7 separate regions of the Homo sapiens genome follow, and all the other regions are linked to region 7. Evidence: promoter capture Hi-C in 16 types of primary human blood cells and fetal thymus (Javierre and others, 2016). All regions are on one chromosome and are shown on one strand. The core of a region is centred on a gene start or on the middle of the fragment in contact, and the rest is flanking DNA. Distances in the headings are between cores, read along the strand shown.

Evidence for each region. The method cuts DNA at HindIII sites, captures the fragments that hold promoters and counts their contacts. A CHiCAGO score of 5 or more calls a contact.
Region 1: a fragment that was not itself captured here is called in contact with the fragment with the promoter of KBTBD8 in region 7 in 4 of 17 cell types (total B cells, monocytes, fetal thymus and 1 more); the score reaches 10.2 in total B cells.
Region 2: a contact is called between a fragment that was not itself captured here and the fragment with the promoter of KBTBD8 in region 7, in 1 of 17 cell types (naive B cells). The highest score is 5.8, in naive B cells.
Region 3: a contact is called between a fragment that was not itself captured here and the fragment with the promoter of KBTBD8 in region 7, in 1 of 17 cell types (fetal thymus). The highest score is 5.0, in fetal thymus.
Region 4: a fragment that was not itself captured here is called in contact with the fragment with the promoter of KBTBD8 in region 7 in 2 of 17 cell types (fetal thymus and total B cells); the score reaches 6.1 in fetal thymus.
Region 5: a fragment that was not itself captured here is called in contact with the fragment with the promoter of KBTBD8 in region 7 in 2 of 17 cell types (naive B cells and total B cells); the score reaches 6.9 in naive B cells.
Region 6: a contact is called between a fragment that was not itself captured here and the fragment with the promoter of KBTBD8 in region 7, in 2 of 17 cell types (total B cells and naive B cells). The highest score is 5.6, in total B cells.

The regions. Positions count from the first base shown.
Region 1 is chr3:67,648,302-67,652,247 of GRCh38, forward strand. The region is part of intron 1 of SUCLG2 (succinate-CoA ligase GDP-forming subunit beta); the gene reads right to left. Among named protein-coding and RNA genes, the nearest start is that of SUCLG2, 4.3 kb to the right of the region's middle. RefSeq lists an enhancer at 2,434-2,483. The HindIII fragment of the contact is 7,595 bases long and covers 1-3,946 here.
Region 2 is chr3:67,620,243-67,624,285 of GRCh38, forward strand. The region is part of intron 1 of SUCLG2 (succinate-CoA ligase GDP-forming subunit beta); the gene reads right to left. Among named protein-coding and RNA genes, the nearest start is that of SUCLG2, 32 kb to the right of the region's middle. The HindIII fragment of the contact is 2,752 bases long and covers 1,052-3,803 here.
Region 3 is chr3:66,375,451-66,379,397 of GRCh38, forward strand. It overlaps SLC25A26 (solute carrier family 25 member 26), which reads left to right. Exons shown (of 10, transcript NM_001379210.1): 10 at 2,240-3,473. The coding sequence ends at 2,357. LRIG1 (leucine rich repeats and immunoglobulin like domains 1) reads right to left here. Exons shown (of 19, transcript NM_015541.3): 19 at 3,347-3,947. Among named protein-coding and RNA genes, the nearest start is that of LRIG1, 120 kb to the right of the region's middle. The HindIII fragment of the contact is 4,729 bases long and covers 12-3,947 here.
Region 4 is chr3:66,394,861-66,398,625 of GRCh38, forward strand. LRIG1 (leucine rich repeats and immunoglobulin like domains 1) reads right to left here. Exons shown (of 19, transcript NM_015541.3): 11 at 3,252-3,323. Among named protein-coding and RNA genes, the nearest start is that of LRIG1, 100 kb to the right of the region's middle. The HindIII fragment of the contact is 895 bases long and covers 1,783-2,677 here.
Region 5 is chr3:67,692,057-67,696,019 of GRCh38, forward strand. All of the region lies in intron 3 of SUCLG2-DT (SUCLG2 divergent transcript), which reads left to right. Among named protein-coding and RNA genes, the nearest start is that of SUCLG2-DT, 39 kb to the left of the region's middle. The HindIII fragment of the contact is 1,550 bases long and covers 1,394-2,943 here.
Region 6 is chr3:67,671,620-67,675,480 of GRCh38, forward strand. The region is part of intron 3 of SUCLG2-DT (SUCLG2 divergent transcript); the gene reads left to right. Among named protein-coding and RNA genes, the nearest start is that of SUCLG2-DT, 19 kb to the left of the region's middle. The HindIII fragment of the contact is 3,259 bases long and covers 680-3,861 here.
Region 7 is chr3:66,996,411-67,000,207 of GRCh38, forward strand. It overlaps KBTBD8 (kelch repeat and BTB domain containing 8), which reads left to right and starts at 1,897. Exons shown (of 4, transcript NM_032505.3): 1 at 1,897-1,961; 2 at 2,571-2,781. The coding sequence starts at 1,946. RefSeq lists enhancers at 1,555-1,654, 3,618-3,717 and a silencer at 1,995-2,314. The HindIII fragment of the contact is 2,180 bases long and covers 1,861-3,797 here.

The DNA of each region.
Region 1 (3,946 bases), core at 1,203-3,702, 650 kb after region 7:
GAGAGGAAGGTGGATAAGAGTCCAGAAAGGGCAACCATGCCAAGTTGATCAGCACACCTTCATCAGCACAAGTCCAAATGACCAAAGGCGAGTGTCACTCAAGGGCAAAAAGATGGGGAAAGGTAAGCAATCAGTTTAACTGCCTAGTTCAGCCCAACTAGGATCTTTCAGTGACAGAGCTTAATAATTTAACAGCATAAGTCCTTTATCAGCATGAGGCGGGTGACTCCCTGGCACTGTGATTTTAAGCAAATGACTATAGGGCCTCTCTATGCCTCTGACTGCTTCTATAAAACATGGAGACTGTGAAATCTCCCCTGCAGTGATGTTGTAAGGGTTAAAGAAATAATGTGTGGAGATTACTTCACGCAGCCTTGTTATATACTACATGCCCAAGGAACAGTTCTATGATTATGAGGACCCTTTCACAACTAGGATTTCTATAGCCCCTTCCTTCTTCCTCATTTGCTGAAATGAGCCACATCATCCCTCAACTTCTCCTGTTCCTTACCTCCCTCTCCCTTCTCTGTGCACCCTACTCATTGACTGAGACCACAAATGCTTACTGAATACCAACTCCGGCCAGCTGGGGAATCACTCACGCTGTTACATTAAGCTGTATCACTTTGCCTTTGTGGAGCTTACATTCTTAAACTTGTAGGAGAGCGGGGAAGACGGCCAATGAACAAATAACACTACCAGGTACAGTCAAGTGTTATAAAGAACAAAGCAGATAAGGGTACAGAGAATAATCCCTGGAAAGGCAGGGCTGGGTAAGGTAATTAGGAAAAAGCCTATCTGAAGAATCAACGTTGAATCAGAAAGCTGATGAAGACAGAGATCAGGCAATGAATGATCAGAGGGAATAGTTCTGCAGACACAGGGTAAGTGGTTGACAGAGGCCAACAGTATCTTAGAAGGCTAAGAACACAGCTCAATTGCAGTACCCACTATGTTTTAGTATAACTACAGGTTTATAGGCCAGTTGTACCTCTGTGCCCTCTGAAGGTAGGAGCTGTGTTTCTTATTCCTGTCTGCATTCACTCAGTCATATTTATCTGCCCAACATTCTATAAAGAATGAGCTGTAATAAGCATTCAGAAAATATTTGCTACATAAATGATATTTGTTTGATTTTTCAGTTGTGGGGGTTAATTTTATTCCCTGCTGAATTCTGGGCTTTCTGAAGCCCCATTTAGACTTCTTTGTATACCCAAAAGTGCCATTGTCCCTCAACTTCTGCTATCCACCTCTCCCTTCTCCATACTAAACTGCTCACTACAACTACTCTCCCCCTGTTCTCTCACCTCTGCCTCTGCATGAATTCACCTGGACTGCCTTCTTCATCACCTCCACCTTCCTCACAAACTCTCAAGATTAATCTCCAAATTTCATTAGTGTACTGATATTATCATTTGTTCAAATATTTCCAAATCTCTCAAGTTCTTCAGTAAAACTTTTCCATCAAGTAACAGAAAGTGATGCATCAAGTGACAATTGCAGATTGAGTGGTAAAGACAGCTGAAGGACAAATGATCTGAGGTTACTTATGTAATTTCTTTTCCTCCCCCAAATATGCCATATTTCAGTGACTTTCTGGGCTTTGCGCCTGCAGAACTAGACCAGGGTACGAGGGCAGGAATGTTCTCACTACTGTGGGTCTGTGCACTCAATCACTCACCCATAAAAGAAATGCCTTATTTACAGCAAACAAAACCAATTTAGGACAAAGCTATCACTTAACGGTCTTCCCCACAAGGAAGGTCAATAGTTTAGCATCTAAATTATTTGAGATGGATTCCCTTTTCTAAAAGCAGAAATTGCAGCTGTACTTCATTTTAAAAAAAGAAAAAAGTCAAATATTTATTCTCCTAGGCAAGAGGGAGATACAGGTAAGTCACAACTTCCAATGCAGCCGCCACAGCCTCATTTAGCTGATAAGAACTTGCCCATAACCTTTAGTCCTTCACTTACAAAAGTCATGCATTCATCTTTCTCCTCCCACTTCCGTAAAGGCAGAAAATTAGGCTGGAGCCATTCTTTCTGAGTATACAACAGCAGGGGCATGGGTTTAAGCAGTTTCTTTGACAACATACATTCCTCTGTAAGTCCCTGGACAGAAGCTCTGGGCTGCACAGAAAACATACAACAAGGATTCTAAAATAGGAGGCCTGGCCAGGCACAGTGGCCCACATCTGTAATCCCAACACTTTGGGAGGCTGAAGGGGGCAGATCACTTGAGGTCAGGAGTTTGAGACAAACCTGACCAACATGGCGAAACCCCATCTCTACTAAAAATACAAAAATCAGCCAGGCATGGTGGCGTGCATCTGTGGTACCAGCTACTCAGGAAGCCGAGGCAGGAGAATCGCTTGTACCCAGGAGGAGGAGGTTGTAGTGAGCCAAGATCAGGCCACCGCACTCCAGCCTGGGTGAGAGTGAGACTCTCTTTCAAAAAAAAAGTAAAATAAAATTGGAGACCTGAAAGGCAGTGCTTCTCCTACAAGAGAGCTCCATGAACTTCCACTAGCCAAAGAGAGGGGAAATACCCTAAGAGACAACAAAACTGTGCTTAGACTTAAGAACCATTTCAAACTCAGTGCCCTCAGCCAACATTTCCCCTAAGACTTGACTGGCAGTATGTACTCATATCTTGCCCACCATGGCAGTGCCTGGCTATATTACACCACCAAGTACTGCACACACTTTTCACTTGGCTATATGGACACAGCAACATGGCCCCTGTCTACCAGGATTTAGGTCTTTGGAAAGACTTCTAACCATGGTTAGACCCTTACTGCTAAATTCACTGAACACCACTCTGCTAAAAGTTTCAAAGCCAGCCTAACTTAGATTTATAACAGGGGGCGTGTACAGTACATTAATTACATGCCTGTGCTTTGGCTGCCAGGACTGGGATTCAGCCTCTGTATGGTTTAAACCCCTGAAACCTCCTTAGCAGACCCTGCAGGTCTCCACATGATTTGGCCCTTGTCTTCCTCTCAGACCTAGTCTACTACCACTTTCCCCCTCTAATTACCTAGACATGCCCAGCTCATTCTCATCTCAGTCTTTGCACTTGCTGTCTGCTCTGCCTAACACACTCTTCCCCTTAGTCTCACCTAGCTGGCTACCTTTCATCGCTCAGGTCTCAGCTCATATGTCAAAAAGGCCATCTCCAGGATCACTTACATATAATGCTGAGCAATGTGAAGTATGTGTATGCCTACATATAATTTCACCTAAAGTACAAAACTGAACAAAACCAGCGTTATAAGTCAGGGGACTGGTGACCCTTTGTAGGGTGGAGGTAGTGACAGGCAGGAGCACCAGGGGGCCTCTGGGTTGTTGTTAAATGATCGTTTTCTTCATCTGTACCTAGTTAGCTGGGTTTGCATTCAGTTTATGAAAATTCATCAAGTTGTTCATTTGTAATTGTTCATTTTTCAGTATGTCTTATATTTCAGTTTAAAAAATTATGCCAATCAAAAACACACCATATCAAATAGGTCTCCTCTGATCATCCAGTCTAAACTACCCTGCTGTGAAGCAATCCATTCTCCATCCCATGACCCTGACTGATTTTCTTCACAGAATCTGTCATTGGCTGAAATCATTTTCATTATTGGTTATATGTGTACTGGCTCACTCTCTCCCACCTCCATTAAAATAAAGTATCACGTGGCCAAAGACTCTGCCTGCCTCATTCACCATCCCCAAACCCCAGGGCCTACAACAGTCCTGCCAAATGGTATGGGCTGAATAAAAACTATATGAAAAATAAGAAATGACTAAAGTGGACCCTTTAAGGACGTACTATCAATCAAAAGTCAAAACAGTAAAGCTAACAGCAAAGGTGAAAAAAAAAAAAAAACTTCAATGACACTAAGCATCAGGAATATGTGTCAAATGTTAAATTTAACCATAGGGAGGAGGTAGACAAAAT
Region 2 (4,043 bases), core at 1,178-3,677, 620 kb after region 7:
GAAGAGTGTAATTACAGAGCAGCAAATGCTATGAGGGAAAAGAAAGACACACATGATGAGGCCGGGTGCAGTGGCTCACACCCGTTAACCCCAGCACTTTCGGAAGCCAAGGCAGATGGATCACCTGAGGTCAGGAGTTCAAGACCAGCATGGCCCACATGGTGAAACCTTGTCTCTACTAAAAATACAAAAATTAGCTGGGCGTGGTGGCACGCACCTTTAATCCCAGGTACTCAGGAGGCTGAGACAGGAGAACAGCTTGAACGCAGGAGGCAGAGGTTGCAGTGAAACGAGAATGCACCATTGGACTCCAGCCTGGGTGACACAGTGAGACTCCATCTCAAAAAAAAAAAAAAAAAAAGAAAGAAAAAAGAAAAAGAAAAGAAAGACACATGATGAGCTGTGCAGGCCAATTTTAGACTGAGTGGTCACCTTTAAAGAAATGACATCTGTGCAGAAATCTGGAGACAGAAAAGAGGTATACCTGTGAAGGAACTGAGGCAAAGCACAGCAGGCTGAGAGGCCAGCATGTTCCAAGGCTCTGGGGTAGGAAAGGGGTTGGCACGTGCACGAACAAGGGAGTATGGTGACAGAGGAGCATGAAAATGCCAGCAGGGACCAGATAATGCAGGTGCTGGTAAGGCAAATACAGAGTTTAGACTTCATTCACTCAGTTTTAAACAGGGAAGTGAGAAGATCAAATTCACGTTTTAGAAAAGCCACTGTTTTCTGTTTGGAGAATAAAACCAATTGGGAGAGAGCTGCATTAAACCAGATTAAGGTTAGCAAACTTTTTCTATAAAGAGCCAGATAGTAAATATTATAGGCTTTGAGGCCAGGTGGACTCTGTTGCAACTACTCAACTCTGCCTTTGTAGTGCAAACTAGCCATCAATCATAAATAAATTAATAGGCATGGCTGTGTTCCAATAAAGCTTTATTTGGCTAGCAGGCCAGTGTGCTGATCTCTCAACTAGACTATAGAGAAGGGCAGTAGAGGTGGGGACAGAAAGAAATGAGGGGATTCTGGATAAAGTTTGGTGATGAGGTAAAGCTTACTTGTGGATTAGATGTGGGTTTAAGGAAAAAAAAAAGAAATCTAGTATTAGACACACACACACTTTACAATGTTAGTTGATATGCATGTGGTAAATCTGATGTACCTGCTAGTCATAAAAAAGGCACTTCTTTAAAAACAATCTTAACCTCAAATCTTTTGCCCAAACTGGCCTTATAGTTTGAATGTTTCTTCCCTCCAAAAGTCATATGGCACTTAATCTCCAATGTGGCAGTATTGAGAGGTGGGATCTATAACAGGTAATTGGGTTCTGAGAGCTTTGCCCTCATGAATGGACCAATCCATTCAAGGATGAATGGATTAATGGGTTAATGGATTATCATGGGAGTGAAATCGGTGGCTTTCTAAGAAAAAGAAGAGAGATGAGAGCTAGTACTCTCAGCCCCTTCACCATGCATCCCTTGGGGACTATGCAGAAGAGGTCTCATCAGCAAGAAGGCCCTCACCAGATACAGCCCTTTGACCTTGGACTCCTCAGGCTCCATAACTATAAGAAATAAATTCCTTTTCTTTATAAATGACCTAGTTTCAGGCTGTCTCTTATAAGCAACAGAAAATGAACTAAGACATGGCCTATGTATTACATTTAATTATTGACATTTCTGCACATCATTCCACCACATCAGAGCTGCTGGGCCTTTGATCTTATAACTTTCTTCCATTATTTAATATCAATCTCAGCGGGCAACAGGCTACAGTACCTCTATCTGCTACAGTGGCCCATCTGAGATTCTCTCCTAGGAGAGAACACAAGGCCTCCCTTGATTACAGAGATGCTACATAGAAATAACAAAAACCAAAGACATTAAAGCTAAGGATTAATAAGATTGGCCTATCCAATGGAATACTGTAAAATGGTTCCAATGAATGAACCAGCTCTTGAAATATGTCAATGCAAATATATTTACAAAGCAAAACACAGGGGAAAAACTAGCAAGTGGTAGAACAAGAGGAACACATAAGAGTATGCACACTTAAATAGAAAATAATAATAGTAAACAATCTTAGGAAGATACATACATAGATATATCAAAACCATTTGGAAGGTGACATGCCAAGTTTAGGACACTGACTATGTTAAAGGGTCAGAAGGGATCATGGATTTTCCGATGAGACAACAACAGACTTCGATTTCATCACTTATACTTTACGTCTTTTATTTTAAAGTGATCTGAGCAAATCTGAGAAAATAGTAGTTGGAACTTCTTCACATTGGACCCACAGATGACTGTGATATTAATCTCTATACGCTGTTTTATCCTGAATAAAAGTTATCTATTTCATGTAGTTAATTTAATAACTACATTTAATTCCCCAAAGATGGGTTTATTAATAAAATGAAAGAAGGCAAGCTAGAAAAAGAAAAAAAATCTAATTACATTTAATAAAATTAATAATTTTCTAACTACTTTGAAAAGATTAATAAGATCTGAAGGAAACCTGAGATTATGACAGGCCAAAAGTCCATGTGACACATGAGTAACTGAGGCCTGAAGTTACAAGAGTAACGGACACTCCCTCAACAGGCCAGCATTAAGCACCCATCCCTGTGCTTAGGCACTGCCCTTGCAGCCTGCCAAGACAACATCTCTGCAGAACAGGTGAGCTCATGGAAGAAGGCGAGGATATTTGTGCCAAGTAGCTTGGTCTTATGTCAGGTTCATGTTCATAAAAATTGAGTCTCTGCTCACTTGTGGCACAAATAACTCTAGAAGTTGTTTCCTGAAAATTAAGTCACTGCTCCATCTCATTTAAATATATATATATATACCTATGTGTATGTATGTGTATATATATGTCATTCCCCCCACCCACTCAGGTGAGTCTCTGTGGTGGCAAAAGAGGGTCTGTGTTCCAAGAATCATCTCCATGCAAAGTGTTCATTTGAAAACAAATTGCGGCTGGGCGTGGTGGCTCACGCCTGTAATCCCAGCACTTTGGGAGGCCAAAGCGGGTGAATCACGAGGTCAGGACATCGAGACCATACTGGCTAATACAGTGAAACCCCATCTCTACTAAAAATACAAAAAAATTAGCTGGGCGTGATGGCGGGTGCCTGTAGTCCCAGCTACTCAGGAGGCTGAGGCAGGAGAATGGCGCGAACCCGAGAGGCGGTGCTTGCAGTGAGTGGAGATCGAGCCACTGCACTCCAGCCTGGATGACAGAGTGAGACTCCATCTTAAGAAACAAAAAATAAGAAAGAAAAGAAAACATTAAAAAGAGTACAATACTAGGCCATGGGATCATTCTTTAAATTTTCAAAAAGGGGAAAAAATCTTGTTCTGGGGCTATTCATTATTCATTAAAACCCGCCCAACTACACCATCAGAGCAGATCCTTTACAATACTCAGAGAAGGGAAAGTACTAGATATTTTTATTCAACCATGTGGCCCAAACACATCACCAGTGTGAGAGGAACAACAGCAGTGTTTTTCAAGATCTCTACCTCAAATGAGCTTGCACACTAAGCGGGTAAAGCAGAGATATTAGCAAAACACCAGCTTCCAGGGTGGCTGGGATAATGTACGTGAAGGTGCTTTGTAAACCCTAAAGAACCTACGTGCACATTCACCATCACCATTACCAGGGGTCAAACATGTCATCTCAATGCATCAGATTTGACTGTCTCACAGGGCCCTGCTACCATCTCCACACCCTGCAGTTAGCAATTTGTTAGCCCTCCTTAAATTACTCCCCACAGTCCTTTCCAATAAATCCAGATGAAAGCTTGCAAGGGACAGACTTTATTCAATCAACCCACTCCTGCTCCTTCTAAGGATCTAATAGTGCTTAATAGTTTAGGATACATTTGAGTTTAATGGGATTTACCTGATAGCAAGAGACTTCTCATCACTTCTTTATAGCGGCAGTTTTGAGTGACCTAGCTAACTCAATCTCACAAGTTTGCCTGTCACACTGGCTTGCCAAAGAAATGACTTGTAGAGTAGGAAATGAGCGACCTTCG
Region 3 (3,947 bases), core at 1,126-3,625, 620 kb before region 7:
CCTGGCCTCAAAGCTTCAAAGGACTGGCTGACTCTCTTGTTAGGGGCTAATGCAGCTGGTATCTTTAAGTTGAAGCCAATGCTCATTGACTCTTCTGAAAATCCTAGAGCCTTTAAGAATGGTGCTAAATCGACTCTGCCTCTGCTGTAGAAATGGAACAACAAAGCCTGAGCGACAGCACATCTCTTTACAGCATGCTTTCTTGAATATTTTAAGCCCACTGCTGGGACCTAGTGCTCAGAGGAAAAGATTCCTTTTAAAATATTTCCGCTCATTGACAGTGTACCTGGTCACCCTGGAGTTCTGCTGGAGATGAATGTTGTTCTCATGCCTACTATCAACATCCATTCCTTAGCCTGTGGATCAAGGAGTTACTTTAACTTTCAGGTTTTATTAAATTTCATAAGGCTACAGCTGCATCAACAGTGATTCCTTTGCTAGATGTGGGCAAAGTAAATTGGAAGCCTTCTAGAAAGGAGTCACCATTCTAGATACCAGTAAGAACATTAGTGGCTTCATAGGAGGTCAAAATATTGACCATGCTGGGACTTTGGAAGAAGTTGATTCCAATCCTCATGGCTGACTAGTGGAGGGAAACACATACTAGATGTACTGGAAATGGCAAGACCACCGTAGTCAGAAGTGGAGCCTGAAGATGTAAAGAATTGCCACAATCTCATGATCAAACTTGAACGGATGAGGAGTTGGTTCTTATGGGTGAGCAAAGAAAGTGATCTATTGAGATGAATCTACTCCTGGTGAAGATACGGTGAACACTGTTGAAATTACAATAAACGATTTAGAATATTTCATCAATTTAGTTGAGAAAACAGTGGCAGAGTTGAGACGGTTGACTCCAATTTTGAAAGAGGTCCTACTGTGGGCAAAATGTATTGTGTGCTACAGAGAAATCTTTCATGAAAAGAAGAGTCCATCAATGCAACAATTACTATTTTTAGAAATTTCCACAGCCACTCCAACCTTCAGCAGCCACTACCCTGGTCAGTTAGCAGCCATCATTCAAAGCAAGACCCTCTATCAGCCAGAAGATTACAATTTACTGCAGGCTCAGATGCTCATGAGCATTTTTTAGCAATAAAGCATTTTAAAATTAAGGTATGTACAATTTTTAGACATAATTGCTACTGCATACTTAATAGACTGTAGTAGAAACATAACTTTTCTGTGCCCTGGGAAACGAAGAAATTTGAATGGCTTGCTTTATTGCAATATTCACTATTATGGTGGCCAAACTTGGCCTGGGACCAAACTTGAAATATCTCTGAGTCATGCCTGTACTCTTGGTGAAAAGGTTCAAAGGTTATGGAAGCGTGGGCCAGGAATGTGTCCTATAATCCACAGGCAGCAGGCATTCAGTTTAGGGCTTAAGACACATCCCTGGCTTGCCTTTTAGATATGGAATCATAGTCCTTGGACTTAGTTTTTTAAACCTGTTTTGTAATTTTTTTATGTTGGCATCTGTAGATTTCCTCATCTTTATCAGCTACATAATCATCCACTGTATGTTTATACTGTGCCATAACTTATATCACCATCAGCAATGCCACAATGAAAATTTTTGAACAAATATCTGAGTAGGTATGGGGAGGGGGGGCAGTTTTAAAGAATGAATCCCCAATTTGTATCCTCGTGGCATTGTAGTTTTACTTTGCATTGCTCTGATTATTCTACATTGCACCTTGGCTGGTTAGCAGCACCTTCTGTGATACCAAGGGGACTGTGCAGGTGGAGGCATGCTGCCCCCTTCACAGCCACAGCCCATTTGCCTTTCATGCCTTTAGACAGAAAAGGAACACAGGGAATCCATGGAGGTTCAACTCGTTGTCGTGACGTCATGTTTTGGGGTCTCGAAGGACAAAATGCAACTGAGTCAGTGGGTGGAGCGGCAGCATTGCCCAAAAATCTCTTCACTGAGCAACCCCTGGAGATCACTTTAGAGGTGTGGGCTGGAAGTGCCTTCCAGCCTTACCTAGGATTCAGCTCTTTAACACCTTTTTAAAAAAAATCAATTTCATGTTTCAAAGGGAAAAATGGCATGAAAGTTTTAGAACTACTGTTGGGACACAGCTATTACTTGCCTTATTTGGGAGCGTTCACAAGCTGTTTGGTAGTTAGCCACTAATGAGCATGGTGTATTGAGCTGAGCAAGCTGTGGGTATTGGAATTTAACCTTTTTTTAAAATACGCACAACATTAAAAATCCTGTTTTTTCCCCTAGATTATTTGCAGGTGTCTTCCCTCGAATGGCAGCCATCAGTCTGGGAGGTTTCATCTTTCTGGGGGCTTATGACCGAACGCACAGCTTGCTGTTGGAAGTTGGCAGAAAGAGTCCTTGAAGCAGAGACAAGCCTCACCTCCACTTCTGTCAAGAGAGGGGCCTGCAGTGCAAACCCTCTTCCGCTGAGCAGCTGTCTGAACTATAGGCCCCAGTGCTGAAGACCAGTTGTGCTAAGATACCGGCATGGAGATTGTGCCATCCGTGGTATAGGCTGGCTGGTATGAAGTCATTGGCCTGTATGCCAGAGAGCTAAGAGAAGAAAACGGGGTCTGTGGCGGTACTCTGAACAATTTCCTCAGAACCTCTTAATAAATAAGTTTGGTAATGCTGAGGCCAGGCCTTTTAGAGCTTTCATTTGATCTGTATCTGATCTTTCATTTCCTGCCACCTGATGGTGGATTCAGCAGAAGGCAAGATGGTTATAATTCTAAAAGAATAGCTTGTTTGTTTGTTTGGGAAAAGGAGACTTGGGGAAGAGTTGTGTATGTGGGTGTTTCTCCCCCTAGTTAATTCCTGTTGTGTAAGGGTAGGCTTTGTTGAAAAAGAAAGAAAGATTGAACTACAGGTGCATAGCAAGCACTCTTTCTGGGTAACTAGGCTGCTGGTTTTAATTACCCTCAGATTTCACCCATAAAAACGCACAATTGTATTATTTTACAGAGATGTGTCCAGCGCCCCCTGTGGTGTGTGAGAGAAAGCAGCTGCAACTCAAGTGACTAGGTGGGCCCAGCTGGCTTCGTGCAGGAGGGCACGGTGGGTGAGCCATTCTCGCCATTCTCATGTCAGACTGAAAGGAGGGCCTGGGCCAGCTTTGAAAAGGCAGGATGAAATGGAAAGGTCACCACACTTAGGGATTTTAGACCTTGACTAACAAGCTCCAGGTGTAGAAAAATTCAAAACAAAATGTCAGGAATCTAGCAGTGTTGTCTGCCCTGGAGCAAACAAACAGTATGTGATTTTGCTTCGCCTATTTTTTTTTTCTTTTTTGGGGGAAGATAATTAAAGGCAGAATGACTGCGTTTGTAAAAGAAGGACCACCAACTATACTGACATTTATAAATGAACCTTTATTAAAGACACTTCAATGCCATTTGTTAGACACTTCAATATTTTACATGGTTTTCAATGTACACTGTACCAAAATTTCTATAAATAAATAACTTTGTACATAAAAGTAATACTCCCTCTTTCACATTGCCTCTCAGAAGCAGCAAATTCACATATTTTGTGGAAGTAAGATTAGTCAGTTAACTGTCAAGAACAAAATTCTAAATGTGCTTACCTTTTGAACAGTGATGACACCTGACAGTAATTGTTAACTATTTTCTCAGTAACTCCCTTCAGCTTTTGGCCAAAGGAACATTTGAAGGACCTTGTTTCTATTTAAGTTTTACTAAATGACACATTGGCACTCATAAGATGGTTAGCTACCAGTCTCAAAAGTGCAAATTATACCCAGAACCCAGGTCAAGGGCTGTCCTTTCCAGTCCCAGCTCAGTTTCATCTGTGCGAAGGAATGGCATGGACAGGCCTGCTCTGGGTCCTTAGTAGAAATAAGGTAGCCCTGAAAAGTCAGAACTTCCTCCTTTCTGTCCCCCAAGGCCAATGTAATACTCATTATATTGGCAAAACGAAAACATCAGTATAG
Region 4 (3,765 bases), core at 980-3,479, 600 kb before region 7:
GCAGAATTCGGCTCTGCTCCCTAAATAGTGCTTGTTAGTTAATTGCCACTGCCCAGGGAGCATGAGAATGCACAACTTTAGCTTTGTGGGGCTCCAACCAAAACAGAGAATATTTTCTTTTTCATTTCTCAGCAACTAAGGATAAGCTTTTTAAACAGAAATCGGAATCGCCATCTCAGCGGACATTCCTTCCTGAGGAGTCACTTGAAGATAAGTCAACCAAGAGTCTAGCTGCCTTGTTCCTGGAAGACCTCAGAGCTGTGAGCTAAAGAATGATGGCTGGCCCACGATAAGGGAAGACTGGGAAAGAGAGCACACAGGCTTCCCTGCAATACACTGTCTCTGGTACATGGTGACAAACAGGAGGCACAGGTATGCGCAGAAATTCCAAAAACATCATGCAGGCCAAGAGCACGACTTTGGCTGCCTTCTCCACCCACCACTGTCCTCAGACATCAACAAAGCAACCAAATGGACTGGCCTTCCATTTTCTTCTGTTTCTCTCCAGATTTCTAATGAGCAGAGAAACTGTCACAGCAAGGAAGAATGAAGTGTAAGCAGATGACCCAAGGCTAAATTAAGTAAAATCCACTCTTCCTCATGTTCCCCATCACCCCTAGATGAGTTGGGCATCTTATTAAAATAATTATAATTTTGGAAAGTGCTTTTCCAAAAACAGAAATAACTTATCTCAAGGCCATTATAACTGGGATGCTGGCCCATATTAGATCTTAAAATCAGCATGAGAGTTTGCATTTTTATTTCACGGGCAGGTAGCGTTCTGCTGAGAGCCATCTGGAGGGCTGTCCTACTGTGGAGTCACTGCAGGTGGCGGAAGGGCTGTAACGGCCATCCCTGAGGAAATGGTCAATTCCCATGCAGTGTTTGGGGAGGGCAGCTCCCAGGAGTGCACCCTGCATGGGGGTCAGGGCTGGCTGCGCCAGGCATGGGGGGAACTCAGCCTGGATGGAGAACTCTCCGCTGTCAGAAGCACCTCCAGCTCCCCAGCAAGAGGGCACTTCCGTGCAGTCAGGCAGAACAGCCTGGGCACTGTTCACGAAAGCCTAGGAGAGAAGGCTGGGCCATCCCTGTGCGACGTTAAGCATTTGTGCAGGACACAAGGACATATTCCATTTGAACCACAGGAACAAACGGGAAAACAAATTTGACATTTATCTTTGATCAGACACATGTAGAAAGGGCTAAGCCTCATCCTACACACGCCCTGGACGTGTGGGGCTAACGCCTTTGAGGATTTCCTACTTCTTCCACCATGAAACCCACCTCAGACAGGAGGCCAGACTCCAGGAAGACAGTGGGTACTCAGGGTGGAGACAGCATGTTCCTAAACAGCAAGTTAGGACTGAGAGGATACATGGGGAGGGCCTGGGGCCAGGCAGTAGCGAGGATTCCAACCCCTAGGCTCTGCAGGCTCCTGCCGCCCTTCTTCCACCCGTGGAGAGCACAGCGCCATCGGCTCTACTGCCTTCTGCTGCCATCCCAGGGCTTTGCTGGCTCACATGGTGCATTTTCACGATTCCAACTCAAAGTGTGTTTCTAATCATCACTTGTGGAAATTTACCCAGAGGATGACTAAGTGCACAGTACAACCTGACTTGATCTGATGGAGAAAAAGACGACCAAGTGGAATTAACCATTTCTCTCATCTGAGGACTGGGCACAGGGCCGGCTCCAGCGAGGTATATGCAGCAACGATGGGAAACCCAGGCAGGAGACCGAGGCTGAGCCTCCAGAACCATGCAGAAGCACGCTGGAGGTCCAAGCTTCTGGAAGGGTCCAGTTCCTCCCAACTTCCCAAGGAAAATCTTATCCTCCTCCCTCCTTCTCTCAAAATACCTTCTTCCCGTTTAAATTGAATCAGGTATTTTTCAGTCCTGACATCATATCTGAAAGTTTCAAAGACAGAAAAGGTGAAAGAATTCCACAGTGAATGCTCCTGTGCCCCACCGCTTGTCTTCTACAACCAATGTTTCATTCCACTTGCTTTACTGCGAGTCCACCTCTGAGTCCAGCCTTCCCTTCCACGGTGGTCTGGAATCATCTCCTCCCCTGCTCTGGAAGGAGAGCCATGGAATCCTTTCTGTATGTTCCGTCTCACCCGACAGATGGAGGCAGAGCTGCTGAGGCTGGAAGAGGGAAGGCCCTGGGCACGGAGCAGCTGTCTGCAGAGCCCTGAGCTCCATGAACCCGTCACAGACACCCGCTCCAAGATCCAACCCTTGCAAGGACGGTATCTATTCAGCAGGCCTGAGGCTCACAGCATGCTGAACATCACAGGGCAAGTGCCCAGGCCACCTTCCCTCCTCACTCAGTCTGGTGTCACCCGGCCCGCTTCAGTTCCCAGCTATGGGGAATGCACCTCATTTCCCCAGTCCCAGCCTCCCTGCCCCAACTGAGGGTTCATCAAGAGTGGCCTCGGGGAATGGGGATGAGGTCAGGGCACAAAGATGACTGTCCTGTGGCATCTGCCATTCTGTCAGCACTTCTAGGAACCAAAAGTTACCCCTTCAGGGAACTGATATCATGGCTAGAACTTACTGGCTGTAGAATCAGATTCATGTCTAGCTAAAAAAAAAAAAAAAAAACCAGAAAGGAAAACTTGGGTGTTACACCTGAGGACCCAGACTAGCTCCCCTGCCAGAGTAGGATACAGGGAAGCTTTTCCAACCTTGTCACCCAAGAGCCCACAGTCCAAGTCCACAGTGGCAGCACCACCACCTGTGAACCGTGCCCAGAAAGCTTGGAAATGGTATGGGCAGACACCACTGCACCCCTAAGCATCCCATCCCCTCCAGAGCTCTGCCTTGCTCACAGCCCACCAGGCTCTGAAGTAGACCCTCTCAACACAGGCCTTTATCGTAAGCAAGCCCAAAAGATGAAAACTTGGCCCTGACATAATTGAAGGGGTGATTATCCACTTTATAGAGGAGAGTATATTTCACATTGCCTAGAATAGTGGTTAGCAAGCTTCAGCCTGCGGCCCGACTGCCTGCTTCTGTCAATGTGACTTTATGGGCACATAGCCACACCCACCTGCTTATGTAATGTCTATGGCTGCTTTCTGCTGCAATGATGCAATCAAGTAGTCATGACAGAGACTCTGTGGCCCACAAAATCCAAAATATGTACCATGTGAACTTTTAACAAGTGAGCATAATGCAATTGCAGAAGTTTCTTACTCTGAAAGTCTCCACTACCATTAATCAGACCCAGGGAATCCAGATACTTACAGCTCTTTAAGATTCTTCATCTTCACAAAGGCATCAAACTGGACAGATCTGATCGCATTCCCTCCAAGGTTCCTGAAACAGAACATACATTACTTATGCAAAGAAACCCTAGGTACACCTGAGGGGTTTTCAGGACAGTCCTGGTTTCACAGATGACCCACAGGGACTAGCCAGACCTGTGTCCTAACTACTATAAGTGGCTGTTGTTTCCCAAATCGCAACACAAGCCCATGGAATGACTCAGGAGCCAAGCCAGCCTTAGGGCACCATCAAAGCTGGGCTGAGGCCTGCTCAGCAAGGCAAAACCTTTCCCAACAGAGTTAGAGTCAAACTTGATTCAAAGAGGAAACAAACTAAGAATCACATACATGAGGCATCCTCCCCAGATGGCAACAGCATGACTGTCTCGGGTGGCTCTGTTCCCTTCCTCCCAGGGTCTCAGAAGCAACCACACCAAACTGGTTCAGCCCAGCACCTACTCTGCATTGTTAAGCTGCTTTAATGGAGGCAACAG
Region 5 (3,963 bases), core at 919-3,418, 700 kb after region 7:
GTCTTTGGCTAATTATCTCTCCATGATTTGAAGTGTTGATGGTACTGATAATTGAAATACCTCTCTTTCCACGGCCAAGAAACAGAGATATAACCCAAGTCAAGTTAGTCACATTTTTTCTATTGGAATTTAATCAATTTAATCTTGACTAGAGTGACACATGCATGGATAACAGTAGGGGCCAATTCTTTTTTACTATGACTTGTGGAGAAGCCATCTTTTAAGTTTTGTTTCCCAGACTCCCATAACTCTCAGTTCTTATTCTTTCCAAGGTCTGAATTTTAAGCATTTTCTTTCATTCTGAGAGCCACACTATAAACTTCCAAAATATTTATTTTCCCCTTAAATAGGCGAGAGTTGTTTTTTACTGTTCTCACAACAACAAAAAGACAGGTCTGATACAGAGATTCACAAAAATACATATTTCCAGGTATCACTCTGATTCCATTGAATAAGATATTTGGGGACAACATTCTAGGATTTAGTATTTTGAAAGGCTTTTTAGGTAATGCTGATTCAGTTCTGGTCCTGCAAAATACAGGCTGAAAATCCTGGACTTGATGCTTCAGACATATCCCTGCCATGAGCTGCTTGCTGTGCCTTCTGGCTGATTTGGATAAAGGCGCTCCAATTCTGAGGCTGATTGTATTTCTCTCCTTCCCTCTAGTAGTCATTCTCCTCCCAACCGGGTTCATTAACTAGTGAAAACTGAAGCCAAGTGAACAAATTGTCTGGACCTCTATGTTAAGGGCCATGTGTAGATAAGAGTCAAAGGAAGGAATGTTTGCAGGAATCCCCACTCTGCCGGGGTCTGGCTTTGGGAGGTTGGGTAACAATTTCCTGTAACTTCACGTACTTGTGGAGAGCACACTTTCCAATTGTGTTTCAGGAAAACCTATGTTTTCTAAGAAAGGTACAAGGGGGCTATTGTGGTATATATGTATATGCTTATTTACTTATTTATTTTCAGTTTGTTCTATGCCTTCTGCCTCCCAATGTGAGTCCCACAAGGGCAGTGTCTTAGTCTGTTTTCTTTTGCTTTAACAGAATACCACAGACTGGGTAAATTATAAACAATGGAGGTTTAATTTGGTTCGAGGTTCTTGAGGCTAGGAAGTCCAAAAGCATGGTCCTGGCATCTGGTAAGAGTCATCCCATGGTGGAAGGTGGAGTGAGCACACAAGACAGAGAGAGGCACCAGGGGCTGAACTTACTTTAAGAGGTGGGGCCCAATCTCTTATTAAGCCCCACCTCTTAACATTGTTGCATTGGAGATTAGGTTCCCAACATGTGAATTTTGGGGAGTCACATTCAAACCATAGCAGGCAGGGACCTTTTCAATTTTGTTTCCCTCTGTATGCTCAGATTCTAGAATAGTTTCTAGCTCTTAGGAAGCTTTCATTAAGTAGTTTTAGAGTGAATTAATTTTTAAAACATCAGACCTTTACAGAGGTTTTACCAATGGTTCTGTTATTAAATATTATTTTGAAAGCCTCTCCACTATAGCAGTATTGTTCAAACCCAGTGCTACAGACAAGCTACATCAGAATTACCCAAGGAACTTAAGATGTAGTTTCCTGAGATGTTCCTGAAGGGGTTGTTTCAGTGAGCCTGGAGATTCATATGGTATGTTTATGATTATTACTATTATGATTGATGTTATTACTGTAGTGATGGCTGTTTTGAATTTGCAAGGTTTAAATGCACTTGACTAGATGATTGCCAAAGTCTCTCCCTGCACTGACATCCTAACAGGATGGTTCTGGTGAGAAAAATAAGCTCGGACTTCACCTAAGTGGCCCTGAAATTCCTTCCTTTCAAAATTTGGCTCTCTTCACAAGGAGTTGCTATATTGCCTCAGAGGATTTTGCTTCCTTGCTTTAGGGATGGGGAAAAGAAATCCCCTGAAATAATTTCAGGGCTTTGGGATTAAAAAAAAAAAAAAGGCAAGCAGAAGGGGGCAACTTCATATTCCTCTTGGGACTCTGGGATTTCTCCAAGATAGTAGGAGTTCTTGTTTATTAAAATGTCTTAGGTATGCTTCTCTTTTGTGGCAGGCACTATCGATTAGGCAGCAAAGAAGGTAGACAGATTTTCTGCTCCACAGAGCTTACAGTCTTGTGGAGGAGACGGATGTTAGATAAACAATGGCATAAATAGGGATTTAAATAACCATCAAGACCAATTCCTTATTTGGGAATATAGCAGTTGAAAAGGTGGAATTAAGTATTTATTCTTAGTGGTTCTTATATGAACTATATTTTAAAATAACCAAAAAGCCCAAGGTGATCAAGGAAAGTTTAGTTTTGTGTGTGAAAAAATTCTTACCAAGAAAGGAGAAAGGAGTGATAGAATCCACAAATCACTATTTTATTTCCCTTAAATAAATAATGAATGCAGGCTACACTCATCAATGAATGGAGCCATTAAAAGGAAAGTTTGTGGGGAAATTGGCAATGAAGGAGTTAGGCTATTACATTCCTACTGTTACCTAGCATTTATTGTCTCAGTATTCTGGAGGCCAGAAGTCCAATATCTGGCAGCACTGTGCTCCCTCCAGGGATTTTAGGGGAAAATTCGTTTCTTGCCTCTTCTAGATTCTTGGTTGCTGCCCTAGTGTTTCTTGGCTTGTGGCTACATCACCGCAGTCTCTGTCTTCATCTTCATAAGACCTCTGTGTTTCTCTTTCAAACTCTCTCTGCCTCTGTCCTGTGAGAATACATATGATTGCACATACAATCCACCAAGATATCTAGGGTAAATTCCTCTTCTTAAGATGCTCAAGTGAATCACATCTTTTGCCATGTAAGGTAATATTCATATCTGAGGATTGGGATGTGGACATATCTTTCTGAGGGGCGCCATTCACTCCACCACATGTGTCTTCCAGTGGGATGCACTGTGAAGTACATAGCCTCATTTGCAATCTTTCCTTGACAGAAAAGCTTTTCTGTGTTTAACCAGACCGTTGGAGCTTATAATCATTTATAGAAAATATTGGAGATAGAGAAATAAATGAAATAATCCAGGCTTAGTGGCTAGCTCCTGTAATCCTAGGGCTCTAGGAGGCCAAAGCAGGAGGATCACTTGAGGCCAGCCTGGGCAAACTAGAAAGACGCAATCTCTAAAAAATTTAAATTTAAATTTAAAAAAGAGCAAGAGAAAGTGAAATGACTTTCTAATCAGGTAAACACAAAATATGGAATGTTCCATAGGATAATTGACTTTTTTTTTGTGCTAATCAATGGCATGGAACAAGGTGAAAGTGGGCTGTTCTAGATTACAAGATTTAAAGACACAGCAACCAAGTTTTCTTGTGGACCCTGTATGAGTACTTATTAGACCAAACTAGCTCTAAAAAGACATCTTTGAAATGATAGAGTAATTTGATTTAGAACTGGGTGTGAGTTGGTACTTAGGAATTGGAATGAATTTGATTAGCAGTGACAATAACATTGTAGTTGTGTCAAGTACTTCTTGTGTCCTGTGTCACATCCTCTCAGTCCACCTTTTCACCCCAGCTGTTGCGGCTACCCCTAGTGTTGCCCAGGTAAAGCCTGATAGCACCTCCCCTAAACTTCACCACATGCCTTTCTTTCTCCTCTGGGTGCCTCTGTTCCCCTATGGGACACCTGTGGTAACTGTTCCAGCTATTCTGTCTCTTTCTGAAGCATTCCATTGCCAATCTGGGAGTGTAAGAGTTAATGCTCCGTGGGGTGATTCCTGACCAGTGGGTAGGAGAATCAGTGGATAAATACTTCCCATTGTGGTCACTCAATAAATGATCTAAATTGCATTCTACAGCTCCTCTGAGAGTCCTCAGCAGAACCCAGCCCCATGTGCCCACGGAATTAGTTCTCTGAGAATGCATAATGCATCATCCTTGGGTAGGCTTTCCCTCCTTCCCTGTTTCAGTCTTCTCAGCCCCACACTCCTTGGGATCACTTCCCAAAATAACAACTT
Region 6 (3,861 bases), core at 1,059-3,558, 680 kb after region 7:
AAATAATAAACCAGAAGAATTCAGTATCCAAAATTTGGTCGTTTTTACTCTACTATACTGAACAATTAGTCCATTTTACTATCATGCCAAACAGCTCACACTTTAACAAATCAACACTAAGTGTGCTCTATTCAGATGCCTTGAAATTTCAAAGTAAAATGGCAAATGATACTAGATGAAAAACGTTAAGAATTTCAGCAGATTTTGCAGTGATGAAACTTTGTCTTACCTCTTAGAAAATGCCATTGCGCTGACTTTAGTGCCTTAAACTTCTAAATTGCATTTGACTTACATGTTTTCACTTGTGTGTGTACAGTCTCCCCAATTCAGTTGTGAACTCTTTGAGATCATCTAGCAAGCCAACTCTCTATAAAATCTGTATGTCCGAGTTCAAAGCTCTAACTCCACTCAACCCAGATGGTATACATTCAAATCCTGTTGGCCTAACATTTTCAAATGGAAAGAATACAATTAGAAAGATTTTACCTGAATTATAGAAGCCTCATAAAGCAGTGAGAGCCTAGAGGCTAAGGAGTCATGGGGAAGTTAAATAAAGTCTTAGTCATGAAGATCCTGTTGAAGCTCTGTCTGTATCCCCTAAGTGCTTGCCTCTGTAGTCAGCTTACTGAAAACCCTTTAATTCTCTCCACCTAAGGTCATTTCTCTGTCTTTGGAAGCAAGCTTGGCCAGCATGCAGGGCAGGCTAGAAGTGCAGAAAGGTTAATGCTCCAGGAATCAATCCTAAACCAATAACAGAAAGTTGGTAGATAAGTACCTTAGCACCTTTGCTTCTGGGAAGGGGTAATTCTAAAGCTGTTCTACTTTGTTTTGAGTTCCCCCAGTGAGTTGGGTTCTGTTACCCACAGCAGTCAGCTGCTCAATAAATCACCCTTTATTATCTTCCTTCTCTGTCTCATGTCTCAGTTTTTCTCCCTCTGTGTCTTGGGATCACTTCTCAAATAAACTTCTTGCACCAAAATCCCTGTCTCAGAGGCTAATATGGGGGAAAGCCAAAGACAGACGTTAACCACCATGGCACGTCTATAGCGTATTGGGTTAAATATTTTATATACATTAATCCATTCAATCCCCATAATGAAGATAAGAGGTGGGTATTTTTATTCTTATTTGATGAATAAATGAAGTCTGAAAAGTTAAGAAATTTACCCATGTTTACACTTTATGTGGCAAAGTCAGGTGCCCTGCGCCCCCAAGTGAGTGAATCCCAACCCTATGTTTTGTATTTTTGTTTTTTTGGTTTTTTTGAGACAGTCTTGCTCTATCACCCAGGCTGGAGTGCAGTGGTGTGATCTTGGCTCACTGCAACCTCTGCCTCCTGGGTTTAAGAGATTCTCATGCCTCAGCCTCCCAAGTAGCTGGGATTACCGGCACCCACCACCACACCCAGCTAATTTTTGTATTTTTAGTAGAGACAGGGTTTCACCATGTTGGCCAGGCTGGTCTCCAACTCCTGACCTCAGGTGATCTGTCCGCCTTGGCCTCCCAAAGTGCTGGGATTACAGGCGTGAGCGACCATGCCCAGCCTCAACCCTATGTTTTACACACTATAAAAACTCTCAGGCTAGCTCCCTTGGAATTGTGGAGTACAGAATTAACCCAACCTCACCTGTTAGCACTGGAAAATGTCAACATCTTTTTCTTATATTTATGATAGTGCCCAGGAAAGGACTGGGTACATTACAGCTCCCAGTAAAAGCTGGTTAAATTGCAAGGATTTTTTCTTTATTTGTTGTGACTCTTGTGAAACCTTGACCAGCAATTTAGAATGAACATTGGCTTTGCTAGCTGTGTTTGCAGAAGTAATATCAAAATGATATCCTATTCATGTTTCTGCAAGAGTAATGTCTACCATTCATTCTGGCCTCACTGATGGTGTGCTGATAAGATTACTATAAGTGAACATTCTCATTCTGTGCCTCTCATTATTGAGGAAGGAAACTCAAGGAGTTCCAAATATATTTTATTTTTTTAATATGATAACATGCACACACAATTTTCCTCATTCTTGAATATATGCAATTTATCTATCAGAGCAGGTTTCATTTTTTATGCACTTGCATTTATTCCTTTCTCATCCATGTGTCAGAGAGAAGGGATTGTAATCACTGAAGGAGCATTTGTATAATAAAAGTGATATCTGCAATTCCTTCAGAGAAGAGCGTGAATAAATAATCTGTACATTCTTAATGCATTGCTCCAAATATGAGTTTCAATTTGCACAGAAGTTTCAATAAATTGTTTTGTGTCCCTAAAGACCTACAGATGCCTCATGGGATACATTGTAAAGGATTCCATTTAGAAAGAATTTTGCTTGTGAGTAATATATTCTCTATACTTTTCTTCCCTTTGTTAATGCCTAATGACATTGAATAATACAATCACTTTTTTCTTTTAATAAGTGATAGATACAACATGAACTTCAGTCTAAAGTTTCTGACTTGTTCAGAATTCATCAACAACTTTTCATTCAAGGATTTCAAAGCACAGCATACAACCAAAATTGAGGTCAAATTGTGATGTGGTTTGGCTCTGTGTTCTCACCCAAATCTCATGTTGAATTGGGATTTTGAGTGTTGGAGGCAGGGCCTGGTGGGAGGTGACTGGACCATGGAGGTGGTTATAATGGCTTCGCACCATCCCCCAAGTGCTATCTTGTGATAGAGTTCTCACGTGATCTGGTTGTTTGAAAGTGTGTAGCATCTTCCCCTTCTCTATCTCTGTCTCTCTCTCTCTCTCTCTCTCTCCTGCCATCCGTAAGAAGACGTGCTTGCTTCCCCTTCACCTCTGCAATGATTGTAAATTTCCTTAGGCCTCCCCAGCCATGCCTCCTGTACAGCCTGCGAAACTGTGAGCCAATTAAATCTCTTTTCTTCATAAATTACCCAGTCTCAGGTAGTTCTTTATAACACTGTGAGAATGGACTAACACAAATTGTAACTTGAATTTGTATAATAATTAACTTTGCATTTAATAAGTAATGCACACTACGCTAAGTTTTATGTATTTTATCTTTACAATATTCCTATGATGTGGGTGCTATACTCATTTTATTGATAAGCAAACTGAGGCTGAGAAAGGATGCTTTGCAGGAGGTCACACAATTGTTACAGTGTTTAAATATTAATCACAAGTTTTGTCATTTTATACCTTTTTAATCAGTACTGTACAGACATTCCCCTGCAGGTTAGCCTAAATGTCAAATAATTTCTCTGTAATAGTTGGTACTTGTTCTGAAGGCATTAAATAGCTTGTGATTTACATTATGTTGCTGAAGGTTTTACATAATACTTTGCTTGAATTATTATAAAAGGAACGGCAGTTAACATTGTTGTTACATCTCAATCAATGTTAACCAATTCAACTTAGACAATAACATCAAATTCTTCATGTTTTTGTTGCTTTGGTGGTTTAGAAGGGTTCTGAAACTCTTTACATACATATGCCAATGATTCATTTCTGGATTCATTGTGCTGGTAGTATGGATGAAACATGCTGTTTTAAACATAAATTAATTACAATGGGCAGAATAAATAAAGATTCTACCTCTTAAATTTATTTATTTATTTTATTATGATGATAATTTTTTTGAGACTGAGTCTTGCTCTGTTGCCCAGGCTGGAGTGCAATGGCATGATCTCGGCTTACTGCAACTTCCACCTCCCAGATTCAAGTGATTTTCTGCCTTAGCCTTCTGAGTAGCTGGGACTACAGGTGTGCATCACTACACCCAGCTAATTTTTTTTTGTATTTTTAGTAGAGACAGGGTTTTGCCATGTTGGCCAGGCTGGTCTCGAACTCCTGATCTCAGGTAATCCACCTGTCGCGGCCTCCCAAAGTGAT
Region 7 (3,797 bases), core at 647-3,146:
TAAGTTGAGAATTGAATTTTTAAAAAATTGGCCAAGTTTCTTAAGGCTTAAATAGATAGATGGCTACAAAACAACAACAAAGCACAAACAAAACTCCTCTATTTTAACAGATTTGAAAAGGTTGCCAGATAAAATACAGAACACCCAATTAAATTTAAATTTCAGATAAACAACAAATGATATTTCAGTTTAAATATTTCTCAAATAATGCATGCCCTGTATTTTTATTTGCAATATCGTCAGATGTTGTCAAACCCTAAGGATTAACGCCATTTTTTTCCTCAATACTAACCATATTGTCATAAAGTGCTACCATTTTAATAAATTAGAAAGCAACATCATAAAAACGAAAAAATAAAGTTATGAGTAACCAAAATTAAGTCAATTTCATCTATCCAGAAACGTGCATACAGGACATTCACAAAGAAGAAATTATAAGTGCATATGTATATGCAGAAACCCCAGTCATGAGGAAACACCACTTCCTGTTAACTTGCATGGGATTATAGTATTTTAAGTTCTAAATTTCTCAGCAGACCTAGAAGACAGAACTGAATTGTTTTTCATAATTATTTCTCTTTCTCAATCACAATTTAAATTCCAAGATCCTTTCTTTATCAAGAAGTTCAACGGTTTGATCTTTTCAGTGCTAGAAAAGTTATGCACACGGGCTAACTATATGTCTACTAGAAATTCTTCCCATTCGCTGATACTTCCTTACATTTTAACATCTAGAAATAGCATTCCCAATGTTAGCTCATTTGCACCTTACATTTATTTTTAAAATATGAAACATCTATAATGTGCCAGGCACCCCGTTAGATGTTAGAAACACAAGATGAGTAAATAAAAATTCGTCAACAGTAAAATTTTGATTTTCTTTCCAAAAGGTTGCAGCCTATGAAATCCATGGAGTACGGATTACTATTACTTCACGTTACAGATGAAGGATCTAAGCGCTCAGGGGTTGAAAGGTCTTATGTCAGTTCTCACATATAGTGACTAAAGAGCCAGGGCTTCAGTAATCATCCCTGGCTCCGGGCTCAGGGCATTCCGGTATTTTTTCAAAGGAAATTCCGGAATACTTAGTATTGTATCCCCTCCATTTCCCAAGAGCAAAAAGTAAAGCATCTTGGATCCCCTTGTAATGTTCACGTGAGGAACAGGTGTTCTCTGGGTGTGCTAGAAAAGCAAGGCACCAGTGGGAGTTGAAGATCCTAAGCAGCCGCTGTAACCAGACCAAGTTAATCTGTGGAAACCAGAGCACCCGGCCAAGGCGATGCTATTTCAATTGGGTGTCATAGGTGACTCATCAGAGACGCCTTGCTTTTGGGCCTTGTGATATTTTTCTTCAGGGTGGGACGTCAGATTTCCTTTGCATTTTTGGACAACAGCCCTCCTGTCCATTTCCACATTTTTCTGGTTTTACAGCTCTCACGCAGAGCTTGATTTCATACCGGAAGCTAGTCACTGGCAGGAAGTTTACGGAAGAAGAAAAAGGTAAAAAAATGTGCCGGGGGCCAGGAGAGAGGCCTAAAATGGGGAAATTCGCACTTGAAGAGCTTTCCCTACCCCAGCCCCTCAGAATGACAGTTCTCCTCCGCCAGAAGACTACCTCTCCCGGCAGGCACTGCGCGCTCGACGGCCACAGGCTGGCCAGCTCCCTGCTCTCCACCTCCATCCGAATCAGCCAATAGGAATTCCCGGCTTGGGCCTCCGCCCGACCCGGACCACGCGGGAGCCGGGGCAATCAAACTACATTTCCCGACACGCATGTGCTCGCGTCGTGGCCAATCAGCGCCAGGAATTCGGAGGCTAGGGGTGGAGCCAGATGCACAGGACACCCCATTGGCCAGGGGAAGCTTAGAAGAGCCGGAACCCGGGAGCTAGAGAAGCGAAATGACATTTCCTTTTTAAATAGCTGGAGTCGGGGCCCCATCGAGAAATGGCCGCGTCGGCAGGTGGGTCGTGTGGTGGCCAGGGCGGCGTGGAGGGAGGTGAGGGGGAAGGTGGGCCGGGGCCGGCCACAGGCAGTGGGATGAGGACGTAGCGGTGCGGAGCTAGAGGGAAGGATGAAGCGGTGGAGGGGAATGAGAAGAGGGAGGATGAATGGTGCGGAGGGCGGTGGGCGGTCCGGCGGGACCGGGATGGGGAGGCTGGGTACCCGCCGGCGCTGCGCCCCAGGAGGCAGCGGGAGGCGGCTTGAGGGGGCACCGGCGGCCGCCGTTGTTCGAGCTTCCCTCGTGAGGCTCTGCCCTCGGCTCTCGGCGGAGTCCGCGCAGACGCCTCTCCTGGGCTGCGAGCGCGTTTCCTCCGCGAGCACGGGTGCCGGGCTCGCCGGGCTCCGCAGGAGCAGGCTGGCCTTTGAACTTGTTCCGCCGATCGCGCTCCGCCCTCTGTCTCCCAGATCCTTAACTCGCGGTCCCACGAGGTCGTGCGTATATCCACAGACATTTGTATATATCTTGTAGGGGGAAAAAGCCTAGCAAGCAGACACACAAACAGAAAAATCCCGCGATGCCGTAACTGGCTCGGCACTTCTTGTAGTTGTACGATTTTTCTCCTCCTAGATTTAAGTAAGTCTTCCCCAACACCGAATGGGATTCCATCTTCAGACCCAGCCAGCGATGCCATGGACCCCTTCCATGCTTGCAGTATTCTTAAGCAACTCAAAACAATGTACGATGAAGGACAGTTGACAGACATTGTAGTGGAAGTGGATCACGGGAAAACATTTTCCTGTCATAGAAACGTTCTTGCTGCAATCAGCCCTTACTTCAGGTATGATGATGGTAGGAACTTCTGTTGGTATCTGCACCAAGCTCCCTTTCCCCCTCAGTATTGTCCACTTGATGTTTATATTGAGATGCGATAATGAAATGAAACCAATGACTTTGTTTCTTGAGACTAGAAAACAAGTCCTCTCTTAACTAAGACCTTCTTTTGACTTGAGGGATTCTTCTAGATTTCGGGTGATTGCTTTTTAAGTTAGTGGGCCTGTGTGTGTGTGTTTGAGGTAAATGACCAGAAAATCTAGACTTGTGCTGGTCAGTATGGAAGCCAGTAGCCATGTGTGGCTGTTTAAACTTAAATTATAAGTTAAATAAAATAAAACATTTAGTTCCCCAGGTACACTAAATACTTTTTGAGTGCTTGCTGGTCACCTGCAGCTAGTGGCTGCCATATTGGGCAGCACAGAAATACAGCATTTTCATCATTGACAATTTTATTGGACAGTGCTGATCTAGAATTTCTTTCAAAAAGTTATCCATAATGCATGTTTCTTTAGTGTATGGGACTCTTTTATAAAATAGTTTAAAACATGTAGCATGTTCCTTCAAAAACAAATTACCACTCAATAGATTGTTTAAATGCTATGGGGGTCAAAGCAAGAATGAATATAGTTTCTTTGTGCCTAAGGCCCCAAATTAATAATATCCAAGATTTCTAGAAGTATGTTAAACGAAGTTTTTGTTTTTACTTATATTGTCTACTATAAAACTTTTAAAAGTAAAATTTAAAAACTTGGGTCTGAAAAATAACTTCCTACTTTAAGATGAGTGGAAAAGGCAGTTTTCTGCATGGGCTTAACTTCTTTTGTGTCAAATGCTCACTTTAAGCCTTTCAGTATTCACAAGTGGTGCATAAATAATAGTAAAGTTATCAACCACACTCTGAATGTGATTTTTCCTTTTGAAGGTGCTTACCTTTATAGGGCACATAACCATATAATGTTCCAACAGTAGTTTCTGGTTCCTCTTTCTCAGAATACTGGGTTAAATATAGTCACTTCAGTC